Regions from separate parts of the Homo sapiens genome. Here region 2 is linked to region 1. The links are contacts of gene promoters, found by promoter capture Hi-C in blood cells and fetal thymus (Javierre and others, 2016). All regions are on one chromosome and are shown on one strand. The core of a region is centred on a gene start or on the middle of the fragment in contact, and the rest is flanking DNA. Distances in the headings are between cores, read along the strand shown.

Region 1 (2,614 bases), core at 1-2,500:
CCGGGACACGTCTGCTCCGCGCACACACAGTCAGTCGGTCCTGCCCGAAACGCACCAAGTCGCGCCCAGCGGCAACCGCCCTCCCTCCTCCCCTCGCCGCCCCCCTCCCGACTCCGGCGCCACGACTCCCTTGCGCCCCCTCCCCCCCACTGCACCACCTTTACCGCTCCGATCCTTTCCGAGGGGCTGATGTCACCAGCCCCCCCACTCTCCTCGGCCACTTCTCCCCGCCAAAGCCTCCCTTTGGCGAGGCCCCCTCCGCCACCACGGCGCCCCCCAGCGTCACCCCCTCCTCTCCTCGCCCCTTTCTTCCCCTCTTTCCCTCTCCCAACAAATCTCACACCCCACGGAGGCGGGTCCCCCTCCCTCTACCCGCCACCCGGTTTCCTGTCCCCGAAACCCTCTTTTTGTCGCAGTCTCCGGAGCCCCATGGGCTCCCCCTCCCCCTCCCCAACACGCACCCAAACCCCTGGCGTCGTGTAGGCCTCGCGGAAAAAGAGAGAAAGAGAGAAAGAGGGGGAGAGCGAGAGCGAGAGCAAGAGAGAGACACTGAGCGGGCAGGCCGGGGGAGGGGGACCCGCGCCCGCGTCGCCACGGCCCCCCGCCCCGTTTTTGAGCCCCCGCCCGGCCGAATCCGCGCCCCTGGGTCCCCCTTCCGGCCTCGCCCCCCACAGACAGAGCCCGCGAACGGGCGGGGGGCTCGGGAGCGCGCGCCCGGGGCGGGGGGCGGGCTCGGCGCGCGCGGCCTGCGGGGCGCCCTTCGAGGGCCCCCGGGCCGGGGCCGGCGCCCCCCGCCCGCCCTTACCCAGCAGCAGCAGGCGGTGCGTGGCCCGGTAGACCTGCTTGTCCTTCTGCAGCTGCTTCTCGATCTTTTTGTTGGCCTCACGCTGCGCCTTCTCCTCGTTGCGCTGGTCCTCGGTCTTACTGTTCCCGAGGCAGCCCATGGCGGCGGCGGCGGCGGCGGGGCGCGGCCGGGCTGCGGCGGCGGCGGGCGCGGGCGGCCTCACGCGGGCCGGGAGGGCCGGGGCAGCGCCGGGCGGGCGGGCCGGGCGCGGGCTCGGCTCCTCGGCAAGGAGCGCGCGGGGCGGACTGCGGGCCGCGGGCCGCGGGGCGCGCGGACGGGCGGGAAGGGGAGGGTGTCGGTCGGACCGAGGGGCGCGCGCAGCTCCCCGCCCCTCGAGCCGAGGCCGAGGGGGCTGATGGCCGCCGCCGGGCCGAGGCGGACCAGAGCAGGAGCTGCGGGAGCTGCTGCCGCCGCTGCCGCCGCCGCCGCTCTTATTGCCTCGGCCGGGCCCCCGCCGCCGCCCCGAGCCAAAAGCGCCGCGGCGGGCGGGGGGAGGCGGGGGGAGGAGGAGGCGGCGGCGGCGAGGGGGGTGGAAGGAGGAGGAGGAGGAGGAGGGCCGAGGAGCGGCCGCGGCGGCGGCGGCGGCTGGGAGGGCGGGAGCCGGCGGAGGGAGGCGGCCCCCCGGGAGCCCGGGGAGGGGGTCCCTCCGCCCGCGCCCGGCCGGGGACGGGACGGGCCGGGGAGACGCCCCCCACCCCCCGGGCTCGGGCAGCAGCCCGGCTGAGCCGAGGGGGGAGAGGGGGCGTCTCCGCGCCAGTGACGACCCCTCGCACGACGCCAACGCTCCACCCCCCGGACCGCGTCGCCCGGCGCCCCCGAGGCCTCCTCCCCCTCCCGCGGGCGCCGCCGAGGGGCTGGGGTGGGCGGAAGGGGAGGGAGCGCGCGCCCGGACTTAGGAAAATTTTCGAAAGAGCGAGAGACACAGAGAGCCAGAGAGCAGGAGTGTGGAAAAAGCGAGGCGAGCACGAACCAAAGGACAGAGCAACCGAAAAGGAAAATGTGTCCACACACACACACGAACACGAATAAAAACCCACACTACACAGCGATGGTGGTGTCTGGTGGCGGTGGCGGGGTGGGGGGTCTGACTAGATGAGCCGCTCCTCGCGCCCCCGGCGCCGGGCGCCATGGCCCGAGCCGAAGGCGCCTCTGGCCCCGGAGCGCCCGCGGCCTCTGCGCTTGGCGCGGCCGCCCAAGTAGGAGAAGAAGGCGCAGCCCAGGAACACTCGGAAGCAGCAGGTCGCCCCGAACACGAAGCCGCAGCCGCGGCCCTGCTCCGTGCGCTTCTGCAGCAGGAAGTTGAGCACCCACGAGGGGCTGCGCACCGAGAAGACCAGGAACACCACGAGGGGCAGGTGGGCGCTCAGCGCGCCAGCCTTGAGCGGCCCGGGCCGCCACACGATGCCCCCAACGCGCGGCGCCGCGTAGTAGGCGTCGTCCTCGTCGCTCGAGTCCGTGTCCCAGTCAGCCCAGGCCCTACTCGTGCCCCCGGCGGCGGCGCCCTCCTCGGCGCCCCCGACGGCGCCCTCCTCGGCGCCCTCGTCGTCGTCGGCGGCGGCCGCGGCGGCGGCGGCCTCGGGGCATCGGGCCTCCTCCTGGGCTTCTGGCACCTTCTTCTTCTTCTTCTTCAGCATCTTCTCCATCTTCTTCCTCTCCTTCTCCTTCTTCTTCTCCTCCTTTCGCCTCTGCTCCAGCAGCTTCTTCTCGAGCTTCTTGCGCTCCTTGTCTGTTAGGAACTTTTCGGGGAGCGCCTCCCGCGCCGGGTTCTTG
Region 2 (6,706 bases), core at 1,401-3,900, 320 kb before region 1:
CCTGCAGGTGATGCCCTGTCCTGTGAGCCTCCACTGTACCTGCGCCCGTCCCCCATGCACCTGGCACACTAGCCATCTGTCTATCACGCATTCCATCCTGTGAGCCCCCACTGCACATGTGCCTGTCCCCCACTCACCCTGGCACACTGGCCATCTCTCTATCATGTGTGTACCACTTCCTCCTGGCACAGGCAGCATGCCCACCATGGGCTCCCAATCAGTGTCCCAGAATCTTAGAAATGCAGGGTTTCCGGGAGCCAGAGGTTGCAGTGAGCCGAGATCACGCCACTGCACTCCAGCCTGGGCGACAGAGTGAAACTCCATCTCAGTCAATCAATCAATAAGAAATGCAGGGATTCAGGCTGCCTCCGAAACTCTTGGCAAGTGCCTCTCACCCTAGCCCAGTGAAGCAGAGAAGGGAAGGCTCTTCCAGGAGGGTCTTTGCAGAATGTTGCCCATGGCCTCTGCAGTCAATTCTGCTGAATTGGTTCAGTGGTTTAAATCCATACAGGTCAAAGCCTTACAAAAATTGAGAAAATTCTAGATGAGACAATGCAAGCCAATGAGGATCCTACTGACAGAAAAAAAGGGGGTATGGCTCTCCAAGAGAGGGGCCCAGGGAAGGGTGTGGGGGTTGGTGGTTATTTTAGGTGATTGATAAGCAAAAAGTTAAATAAAACTGAATTGCACAATGATGAAGCTGTTCTCTCTTCTATTCTCTTTTAATCTTCTGATTAAGGAGAGAAGAAAGTCTCGACTAGGTGCTAATGCATCTTGAATGCTTCCCTAACACTTCCAAATCTCTTTTTAGCAGAAGGGGTATTCCTAGGGCTCATGGACTTCAGCTCACAACAGATTCTGGCTAGAACTTATTTACCAAAAACATTGTAGGGTTTATATTTTTGCCATGTTCCCTTAATGGCACATAATATTAACTTTTCATTTTCAGTATCGATAAACAGCTTCTCTTGAAATAATTGGACTTAAGTTTTTTTGTAAGTGCACCTAGGAGAAAAAATAAGTAAAGAATCACATAGGTGACATGTAGATGCAACAAAAGTTCTGAAGGTGGCACCTAGATGATTTCAATTTAGGCCTCAGTGCTGATCCCCAGATCAATCATCTGGGTGCCTCTGGGCAAGTCACTGGACAACTCTCTAAGCCTCAGTTTCTCCATCTGCCAAAAGAGGATAAAAGTCACTCATCACAAGTGTGTCCAAGGGAATAAATGCATATGAGCTTCCTAAATCGAAAGTGCCTCCTGAGTTTAGTTATTGAGAGAGTTTTCTAAAATCTCCATTGGAAATATAGCCCTGAACCTTGCTGTGTTTACTGTTATAAACCATGCCAGCTGCAGGAAATTGCAAAACCATAAACTCAATGTAGTTCTTATCGTTCAATAAAACATCTCCCTCAATCAATAAGACTTCAGATGTGTCATCTGGGCACAGGGCCATGCTCAGCTCCTCTTCACTGTTCCAATTTTAGTCTGTGTACCAGGAGAAGCGGCACGACTTCCAATGTGCCCAGCAAAAGCCCAAATAATTAACCTCAACCACATCAATGTTCTCCATTCAGTTCCGCAAAATGTGTTTCTAAGGAAATATATAAGAGCACTCTTTATACCACGGAATGTTTTAATGTACCCAAGCATTCGAGTAAATAGAACAGGTCTCAGTTAATGGAACTTTTAGCACAGAGGTTTTCAATAATAATAATTTTTTACAAAGCTGATATGTCATCGGCTAGAAAGAGATGTGCAGATAAATATAAAAACAGGGAAAATCTATTTATGAGATTATTTTTTGCAGCCCAAGGGTCAATAACTGTCATATTAGGAGAATGATAATAAGGCTGTATGTTGATGGGCATTAGGATCACAGAGAACAGGATGTCCCAGTTGAAATACAAACAAAATCAATGACGTTGCCTTCATCCCCCTACCTCCCTACATTCTGAATAATAATCATTTCAGATCAGTGACCTCATCAGAAATTGTGTAACCACAACAGAGAATCTTCGGCAGCTTTTGCTTAGGTGGCATCACCCTTCATATGGATGTGTAATTTTCAATTGCTTTTTCTAATGGAAAACTGACACAAGAGCATGTGAGCACATGTGCAGACACACACACATACATGCGAAGCTTGTCTTCCTAAGTGAGACTCTAACTGGGAAAATAGTGGGAAGAGCATTTTCAAGACATGATTTGCTGTGAATTTCTCCTTGGGCTAGAAGGGACGGTCTTTGACTGAGTGGCACCAGCTGACTCAAGATGACATGGAGTAGCTGTCCAGTGGAAAACTGCCCCCCAGTTCCTATGCTAGAGTAAGAAAGGCATTCCAAGTGAGAAATGAAACGGCAGCACAGTCCCATCACACATGCATTTAACCTACACCCTGACTGTTGAAGCTCACCCTTCCCTGACCCAAGAAGACACAACTCCACTATCTTGCTTAATCCTCACCATAACAACTCAATCCATTAAGATGTCACAGCAGTTTTAGAGGCTTAATGCTAAAACCAAATGGCACACACCATGCAGTGAAGCAGGGACACGTGGGAATTTTTCTAACCTCTCTTCAGTGGGAGGATTTGCTGTTTATCTTCAAAGCTGCCTGCATGGATGGATGGCCTTTTTTCTTTCCTTCTTTCATCTCAGCAGTCCTCACGCATATTGTGCACGAGAATTTCTGTTCAGAGTTGTATAAACAAATCGTACCCTTATGATAGATTTGCAGGATTCTCAAAGATAATTTTGACAATAGGGATTGTGCCTTGGGGGCCAGCTTTGGAAACAAACCTCACCAGCCTTTACAACATGGCCCCACTGTAGTGTGGGAGAGAGAGGACGTCAGGTTAAAAGGCATGGAAAGGACATTCGCAGTTCGGTTACTACTTTTACCTCCCCAGAGCTTCCATCCATAAAACGGAGGTGACATAAGATGACCCCTAAGGTTGAAAATGGTGATTCCATAGAGTTGAATTTTGCGGTTACTCCACTGCCATCCCACTGGTAACCCACTGGATTTTTCCATTTTTGACACAACGCACAATCAGAAACCAAGACTCCAAGTGGCATGCTCGCTCTTGTTCATGCTCAAAGATTTGGGGGCTGGTCTTTGCTGGTGCTTTCACCTGAAACTAAGCTTCAGGAACCTCAAGGTAAAGAAACTTATGTTTGTTAAATTGTTCATTCAACAAACTTTATTGAGGACCGGCTACATTGCTAGGCCCCTGGATGCAAACATGGAGGAGATGACCTAGCAGCTTGGTAAACAAGGTCTTCTTTAGTTGAGATCATTGCTACAGGGGAAAGGCCACCTAAAATGAATTCATTCACAATTAATTCGCAATACCACAATTTCACAGTGAATAGTATTAAGGACTTTGAGAATTTATCTGGAAAAACGACAAAACCAAAAGTTGTGAAAATAAGCTAATATGCCCACAACGATAAAATAAAAATAAACCTCCATTTTGGAGGTTATAATGGCAAACTATGAGCTAATTGTTAAAAATCAACAAAACGTAGTCAAGTATTGATGAGGACATACATTTTTACATAAAATTGTAGGGTAGACCAATGGACTATTTACCTCGCATTTACTTTAATTGCTAGGTCATCAAGAAGGACTCCCACCCCCAAAAAAATATTATAGAGCTTTATCAATCTTTCCAAAGACTTCTCTTAAGCCTCTGATATTCAAGTCACTCTCCTAGAGTTATCATCTTTGTCACTTTTCTCTTGTTCATTTGTCACCTAGTCTGATTCTGCCAATGGGTGTGAATCAGCAGGCTGCCAATGGTCTTTTCTATCAGTTTCACAAAATGCAACATCTTGAGCACAATTTGCAATTTCACTTAGCAATCAATTTCCATGATATTGCGAAAATTAATCTGAAGGGCATGGATGGATGTGATGGTAGGCAAGGAGAGAGAGAATTGAATGGGGTCTAAATTTACCAGCAGTCAGTCTATTAGGGAAAGTTCTCATGTTCCCACCTAACCAGCCAACCTTATGACTGGAGTGCTCCATAAAGAACATCTGGATTATAAGGTAGATGCCTGTTTTCCCTGGTACATCAATGACTTGATATCTAAGAACTTTCTTACCAATCCCTTCAATGAGACAGCCCCAGTCTATGAGATTAAGTGCACCCCTCAGCCCTGATCCTAAAGCAAATGCAATGAGGAAGGATGTTCTTTAAAACGGCAAAACTTCTGTCCATTCTTAGTCACACTCAGCCTGGGGTGCCTGGGAAATACACCTTAGTTGATATTTAAAAAGAAATTTCAAGTTTCCTGCACCCACTAGCTGGAAACTTGGATGGAATGGACTACCGGATTTAGGATTAGGGAAAAAAGACTCAGTTGTCCGGGCAGTCTCACAGACTCCAATCGATGTACAATCTTACACGGTAGGTCTTTATCCTTCATAACTCCTCTGGCCTTCTGCTTACAGATGACTTCACTGCCAAGCCATCTGTTAATTCAAATGATTAGAACCATGCTTTTGGAATAGTTTAGGAGAGAGGGAAATTAAACATCTTTTTTAAAAATATTTTTTTAAAAAACTCTCTCTCCATCATCCTCCCAAGTTATTGACAGGAAGTGTCTCCAAAAAATAAAGAAGACAAAATTATCAGTTATCACATCTTATTTCAGTCCCTGGACACAAGTATTCATGACTTCTTATTTCTGAATGTTTTGCTGATTCTAGCTGGCCTAAAAGGATTAGTATCTAAAGTTTTTCTCTGCCTTTAAATTGAGAAATCCCACCCACCTCCACCTACACAAAGGTCATTCTCAATTTCTTTGTTGGATTCTACCAAGTTTCCCCAAGTTACAGCCCTTTGGGTCACCCAAAACAGATTACCCCATCATTGTCCTGCCATGGAAAACAGGTCATCTCTCCTCAGAAAGAAAAAAACACAGGCACACTCACGAGCAAACACACACACACACACACACACACACACAAGGTCAGCTCCCTCACCGAGGACGCAGCTCTGATCTCTCCATCCAGGACGCGCCAGGTCAAAGGAGACCCGAGAAAGTTGTTTATAAGTGGTGGACCGCCAGGCTCAACTCTGGGTTCCTTTGAAGTGACAGTGCTTTGTCTTCAAACACCCAGTGCCCTCAGAGTGCCTGTCACTCTACTGTGAAATATTGGTATTGGCAAGTGCTGGTAATAAAACCCCTGTGCCCCTTTGATTTCCAGTGGTATTTATTTTAAAGCATTCTTCCACCCTCCAACTCCATGGTGTCCATCATGATCTGTCAACCCCAGCTTGCTGGTTTGCCCTACTAGCCTTCCCGGTTCCCTCTCTGACACTTCAATAAGGAGCAGGCAGTGATTGATATTCTCTGGGCTAGGGCTTCTACCACATCCTGCAGCTCACAGCTGCCCTGCAGTGGACATTCTCCATGTCCTTCCTAATTGCTGGAGAGGAGGGCCTTTGAAAATGGGAGCCAGGGACCTAGGCCCCTGGTTCAACTGGATGCTCAAATAACAAACATGAAAGCATAGATATTTGTCACCATTCCAGGCTGTTGCTGGGGCCTTATTACCTATGTAAGGGGATGGGGTGGTGGAGCTGTGTTCCCAGCAGGAATCTGAGCTATGGAAAGCCACTTGTTTCTTAGATCTATATTCAGGTTTTGTTTCTGAATTTTTTTTTCTCCTTGGATTTGTTTTTTTTTTTTTTTTCTTTTTTTTTGAGACGGAGTCTCGCTCTGTCGCCCAGGCCGGACTGCGGACTGCAGTGGCGCAATCTCGGCTCACTGCAAGCTCCGCCTCCCGGGTTCACGCCATTCTCCTGCCTCAGCCTCCCGAGTAGCTGGGACTACAGGCGCCCGCCACCGCGCCCGGCTAATTTTTTGTATTTTTAGTAGAGACGGGGGGATTTGGTTTTATTCACCATTCATTGGTGCCCCCAGTTTGCTCTTGGGATTTAGGTGTGAAGAAAGCAATGAAATGCTGATGTTGAAACAGGATGTTTATGGAAGTGGGATTTCCCCCACATGGAGGGAGCTCAGGATCTCTGGGACTCCTCCATTAGTCCATGGGGTGAGCGTGCAGGACCCTTCCCTGAGGCTGAAGGGAAGAAGGGGTGAAAGGGCTTTTCATTCTGGGCTCTCTGCTCACTGAGGCCCCCAGGGTCACCATGAGCATGCAGGATAAGCTGCAGATGAGGCAGGGGTGCCAACTTCCATGGAACACGTTGGGAACTGTGTCCCCTGTGGAGGGGGAGAGAGGAGCAGGTGTCCCTGCTGCAGCTGACACAGCCTCATGCTCAGGGCCAGCGTGTGAGCCAGACAAGTCAGGCCACAGACGGATTTCAGCTCCAACAAACACAATCCTCACATATGGCGGCTCCGCGGAGCCCCATCCCGCCGGCCACTGGGCTTTCTTCCTGAAGGGAAGCCAGTGGGCCCCATAGCTATCAGCATCGAGGCTACCCGTGGTCACTTGGACAACTGTTCCCCCAAGTGTGGAGCATGTCCTGCTGGCAGTGGCCGGGGCAATTCTGTTTTAATTGTATTAGGTTTATAATAGAACTTTCCTGCAAAAATGATTTACAAACAATGAGAGCCCAGATGATGTGCATTATTGTGCACTGAGTGTCCGTGTGTGTCCCTGCCTTTTTTGTTTACAAACACATTTTAAGGCCACTTCTGTTGGTTCACAGATAGGATAAAA

The links. Contacts are between HindIII fragments. The CHiCAGO score rates a contact against its expected background, and 5 or more counts as called.
Region 2: a contact is called between a fragment that was not itself captured here and the fragment with the promoter of GNAS in region 1, in 13 of 17 cell types (total B cells, naive B cells, naive CD4 T cells and 10 more). The highest score is 14.4, in total B cells.

Annotation. Positions count from the first base shown.
Region 1 is chr20:58,890,057-58,892,670 of GRCh38, reverse strand. GNAS (GNAS complex locus) reads right to left here and starts at 1,250. Exons shown (of 13, transcript NM_000516.7): 1 at 806-1,250. The coding sequence starts at 944. RefSeq lists silencers at 93-182, 1,053-1,272, 1,283-1,782, 1,843-1,992. The HindIII fragment of the contact is 29,581 bases long and covers 1-2,614 here.
Region 2 is chr20:59,210,057-59,216,762 of GRCh38, reverse strand. The region is part of intron 4 of ZNF831 (zinc finger protein 831); the gene reads right to left. Among named protein-coding and RNA genes, the nearest start is that of ZNF831, 50 kb to the right of the region's middle. The HindIII fragment of the contact is 1,003 bases long and covers 2,149-3,151 here.